Regions from separate parts of the Homo sapiens genome. Here region 2 is linked to region 1. Evidence: promoter capture Hi-C in human tissues and cell types (Jung and others, 2019). All regions are on one chromosome and are shown on one strand. The core of a region is centred on a gene start or on the middle of the fragment in contact, and the rest is flanking DNA. Distances in the headings are between cores, read along the strand shown. Region 1 holds the start of BIRC5 (baculoviral IAP repeat containing 5). Region 2 overlaps TNRC6C (trinucleotide repeat containing adaptor 6C).

Region 1 (2,696 bases), core at 115-2,614:
TCCCAGCACTTTGGGAGGCCGAGGCAGGCAGATCACTTGAGGTCAGGAGTTTGAGACCAGCCTGGCAAACATGGTGAAACCCCATCTCTACTAAAAATACAAAAATTAGCCTGGTGTGGTGGTGCATGCCTTTAATCTCAGCTACTCGGGAGGCTGAGGCAGGAGAATCGCTTGAACCCGTGGCGGGGAGGAGGTTGCAGTGAGCTGAGATCATGCCACTGCACTCCAGCCTGGGCGATAGAGCGAGACTCAGTTTCAAATAAATAAATAAACATCAAAATAAAAAGTTACTGTATTAAAGAATGGGGGCGGGGTGGGAGGGGTGGGGAGAGGTTGCAAAAATAAATAAATAAATAAATAAACCCCAAAATGAAAAAGACAGTGGAGGCACCAGGCCTGCGTGGGGCTGGAGGGCTAATAAGGCCAGGCCTCTTATCTCTGGCCATAGAACCAGAGAAGTGAGTGGATGTGATGCCCAGCTCCAGAAGTGACTCCAGAACACCCTGTTCCAAAGCAGAGGACACACTGATTTTTTTTTTAATAGGCTGCAGGACTTACTGTTGGTGGGACGCCCTGCTTTGCGAAGGGAAAGGAGGAGTTTGCCCTGAGCACAGGCCCCCACCCTCCACTGGGCTTTCCCCAGCTCCCTTGTCTTCTTATCACGGTAGTGGCCCAGTCCCTGGCCCCTGACTCCAGAAGGTGGCCCTCCTGGAAACCCAGGTCGTGCAGTCAACGATGTACTCGCCGGGACAGCGATGTCTGCTGCACTCCATCCCTCCCCTGTTCATTTGTCCTTCATGCCCGTCTGGAGTAGATGCTTTTTGCAGAGGTGGCACCCTGTAAAGCTCTCCTGTCTGACTTTTTTTTTTTTTTTAGACTGAGTTTTGCTCTTGTTGCCTAGGCTGGAGTGCAATGGCACAATCTCAGCTCACTGCACCCTCTGCCTCCCGGGTTCAAGCGATTCTCCTGCCTCAGCCTCCCGAGTAGTTGGGATTACAGGCATGCACCACCACGCCCAGCTAATTTTTGTATTTTTAGTAGAGACAAGGTTTCACCGTGATGGCCAGGCTGGTCTTGAACTCCAGGACTCAAGTGATGCTCCTGCCTAGGCCTCTCAAAGTGTTGGGATTACAGGCGTGAGCCACTGCACCCGGCCTGCACGCGTTCTTTGAAAGCAGTCGAGGGGGCGCTAGGTGTGGGCAGGGACGAGCTGGCGCGGCGTCGCTGGGTGCACCGCGACCACGGGCAGAGCCACGCGGCGGGAGGACTACAACTCCCGGCACACCCCGCGCCGCCCCGCCTCTACTCCCAGAAGGCCGCGGGGGGTGGACCGCCTAAGAGGGCGTGCGCTCCCGACATGCCCCGCGGCGCGCCATTAACCGCCAGATTTGAATCGCGGGACCCGTTGGCAGAGGTGGCGGCGGCGGCATGGGTGCCCCGACGTTGCCCCCTGCCTGGCAGCCCTTTCTCAAGGACCACCGCATCTCTACATTCAAGAACTGGCCCTTCTTGGAGGGCTGCGCCTGCACCCCGGAGCGGGTGAGACTGCCCGGCCTCCTGGGGTCCCCCACGCCCGCCTTGCCCTGTCCCTAGCGAGGCCACTGTGACTGGGCCTCGGGGGTACAAGCCGCCCTCCCCTCCCCGTCCTGTCCCCAGCGAGGCCACTGTGGCTGGGCCCCTTGGGTCCAGGCCGGCCTCCCCTCCCTGCTTTGTCCCCATCGAGGCCTTTGTGGCTGGGCCTCGGGGTTCCGGGCTGCCACGTCCACTCACGAGCTGTGCTGTCCCTTGCAGATGGCCGAGGCTGGCTTCATCCACTGCCCCACTGAGAACGAGCCAGACTTGGCCCAGTGTTTCTTCTGCTTCAAGGAGCTGGAAGGCTGGGAGCCAGATGACGACCCCATGTAAGTCTTCTCTGGCCAGCCTCGATGGGCTTTGTTTTGAACTGAGTTGTCAAAAGATTTGAGTTGCAAAGACACTTAGTATGGGAGGGTTGCTTTCCACCCTCATTGCTTCTTAAACAGCTGTTGTGAACGGATACCTCTCTATATGCTGGTGCCTTGGTGATGCTTACAACCTAATTAAATCTCATTTGACCAAAATGCCTTGGGGTGGACGTAAGATGCCTGATGCCTTTCATGTTCAACAGAATACATCAGCAGACCCTGTTGTTGTGAACTCCCAGGAACGTCCAAGTGCTTTTTTTGAGATTTTTTAAAAAACAGTTTAATTGAAATATAACCTACACAGCACAAAAATTACCCTTTGAAAGTGTGCACTTCACACTTTCGGAGGCTGAGGCGGGCGGATCACCTGAGGTCAGGAGTTCAAGACCTGCCTGGCCAACTTGGCGAAACCCCGTCTCTACTAAAAATACAAAAATTAGCCGGGCATGGTAGCGCACGCCCGTAATCCCAGCTACTCGGGAGGCTAAGGCAGGAGAATCGCTTGAACCTGGGAGGCGGAGGTTGCAGTGAGCCGAGATTGTGCCAATGCACTCCAGCCTCGGCGACAGAGCGAGACTCCGTCATAAAAATAAAAAATTGAAAAAAAAAAAAGAAAGAAAGCATATACTTCAGTGTTGTTCTGGATTTTTTTCTTCAAGATGCCTAGTTAATGACAATGAAATTCTGTACTCGGATGGTATCTGTCTTTCCACACTGTAATGCCATATTCTTTTCTCACCTTTTTTTCTGTCG
Region 2 (2,696 bases), core at 108-2,607, 120 kb before region 1:
ACCATGTTGGCCAGGCTGGTCTCAAACTCCTGACCTCAAGTGATCCGCTCACCTAAGCCTCCCAAAGTGTTGGGATTACAGGCGTGAGCCACCGTGCCCGACCACTTATCTTTACTCTTAAGGATTTTTTCTCTTAGTACAAGTTAAAGAATTCATGCAGTGAATCTTTGAAATTAGTTGAAAAATAATTTGGATAATATTTTATAATATTCACAGTAAAGTTATAAATGTATTAAAAGCAAATAACTAATAAAGTCTAGGAAACTTTGGTTGTAAAATTGCCTATCTTGTTGGCTCTCAGCATTTCTCTGCAGCAGCACCTATGTTGAAGAGCCTGTTAGACACTCATCAATTCATGTAAAGAAACCAGCAGCCCATGGTCAGTAGTGGGGGCTCCTAGCTACCTTCCTTCCCTCATGTTCAGCCTGTCGTTGTTATTCTCAGTCTTTTGCCACCTGGAGTTCGCCATCTAGATAGGAAGAGCAGGCATATAAATGGGAAAAAATAACCTTGATACCAGTGTCATGTGATTCTTACAGGGCTCTAGAGAAGGAAAAGTTCACTTTCACTTTGAGTGGTGAAAGAAAAATCAGAGAGTAGGATTAAGCTTGAACCTCAAATGATTGGATAGGATTACAGTAAATAAAGAGGAAGCCTTTCCAAATAAAGGGGAAGCCTCACGTAGCACAGAAGAAAGAGGCCTGGCTTGTTTCAGGGGCCCATTTTGCAAGGGCCAGGCCAGTCTAGCTGACTTTCCCAGAGGGGAAAGTTGGGAGAGATGGGTTGGCGCCAAATTGTGAAATTTGGAGCATTCTGAAGGCCAGGTTGAAGCCCTGACATTGTTGCCACCTTACCTGGCTAGATCTGTACAAGCTGAAACGAAAAGAACCCACACAGCAGAGATTGCAAGTAGGCAGCCCTGTGGCACTGATGGGCTTGCAAAGGCGTTTTGTTAGGTCTGCGAAGTGTGTGTGTGCATGTGCATAGGTGTGTGTTAATGCCAACATTCAAAAATTGGGGAAAGTGGCTTCTGGCTTCTCTTAAAAATGGCTATAGTGGGTCTATGTTCCAGGTAGCAATAGGTGGTTGGCCCCAGTAGCACCTGTTTATTTAGACAGGACAGACACTCTCTGGTTTGCCACAGTCCCCATGAAGCCCACTTCTTCATGTGCATGGCCCACCTGGCTCCTATGGGCATTTGAATTTGCAGCCTCTGAAATAAAGGTAAGAACCAGAATGTTCAGCACCTGGCTAAGTAGTAGAGGCTCACTGTGCTTACGTACCGTGTGGCGTAGTACTTACGGTAAGGACCTATGGGGTATGTGTATGTGGTAAGGGGAACTGCAGCTGGAAATACAAGGGGAGGGGGGCGCTTGTGCTGGTTATTCCCTTCCAAACAAGCAGTCTGTCCTGCTCCAAACTAGTGTCCTCATCAGAAACTCTTTACTTCAACCTTCTTTTCATTGTCCTCCTCATCATCTTTCTTTATTAACCTAGCTTAGTGCAGGTCCTGGACAAATAACCAGGTACCTGCTTTTAGCTATAAGGAATGAGCCCAGAAGCCTCAGCTCACCATCCCAGCTGGGGGCAGATGGCAGCACCCCCGCTGTCAAATAGTTCAGTTCCTTAAAAGTAGTTTGATACTTAATTCACAGACTCTTTCAGAGCAGACTTTTGTAAAGGAAACTCACTAAAGGTAGAACTGAATTATCCTATCAGTCTGTTTCATAGGTGGTACTTTAGAGTTCTGGAAAAGTGTTTTTGACCTGATGAGTTTCCGTAAGATATCCCAAAACAAAGAAAGATTTTCCTAATAGTTTGGACTTTTTCTATTTTCCTGTGGACTCTGAGAAGCCTCAGGACCATGTTTATTCAGCACTGAAACAAGTAAAATGAAGAGAATTGTGGGCCTTACTTAATCAAAGACTATTCACATTTTCACCTTAATTTAGGAATAATATTCCTAGAAATACATGTTGTTATGACGATAAGTAGTATTTTTTCACCAGCACTAAAAGTTATAGTTAAAATATTTTGCTGTATCCCAGCTACTTGGGAGGCTGAGGCAGGAGAATCGCTTGAACCTGGGAGGCGGAGGTTGCAATGAGCCAAGATTGTGCCATTGCACTCCAGCCTGGGCATCAAGAGCAAGACTCCGTCTCAAAAAAAAAAAAAAATTTGCTGTAAGCGAAGACTGAAATAGCTTCTATAGGAGAGCTTTAGAATGAAGTCATTTAGAGGAGCAGGCGAATCCTAACCGCATCTCTCTCTTTAGCTGGACTGAACCCAAACATGAATGTCAACAGCATGGACATGACCGGTGGCTTGTCGGTGAAGGACCCATCCCAGTCCCAGTCACGCCTCCCCCAGTGGACGCACCCCAACTCCATGGATAACTTGCCCAGTGCCGCTTCCCCCCTGGAGCAGAACCCTAGCAAGCATGGTACGTCTGAGCTAGGATGCCTGTGGTGGGATCACTGCTGGCTTATTAATCGATCGTCCTGTTGTATAGCATGGCCATTCTATACTTTTCTAAGAATTGAGCACTGAAAGTTGGATTTAAAATAACCCATTCCATTATAGTGCATATAAGATCTCAGCTAGTCACTGATCAAACTTCTTAAAACCCAACCATTAGATCTTAGCTACAAACTTAGAAATAATTTGAAAACCCCAGAGCAGCAAAGAATCTAGGT

What was found. Contacts are between HindIII fragments. The study calls those that stand out against the background at their distance.
Region 2: a fragment that was not itself captured here is called in contact with the fragment with the promoter of BIRC5 in region 1 in 3 of the 25 tissues and cell types used here (bladder, lymphoblastoid cells and spleen).

The regions. Positions count from the first base shown.
Region 1 is chr17:78,212,889-78,215,584 of GRCh38, forward strand. It overlaps BIRC5 (baculoviral IAP repeat containing 5), which reads left to right and starts at 1,365. Exons shown (of 4, transcript NM_001168.3): 1 at 1,365-1,539; 2 at 1,792-1,901. The coding sequence starts at 1,429. RefSeq lists an enhancer at 1,110-2,011. The HindIII fragment of the contact is 20,243 bases long and covers 1-2,696 here.
Region 2 is chr17:78,089,165-78,091,860 of GRCh38, forward strand. It overlaps TNRC6C (trinucleotide repeat containing adaptor 6C), which reads left to right. Exons shown (of 23, transcript NM_001142640.2): 16 at 2,276-2,443. Among named protein-coding and RNA genes, the nearest start is that of TMC6, 38 kb to the right of the region's middle. The HindIII fragment of the contact is 5,688 bases long and covers 1-2,696 here.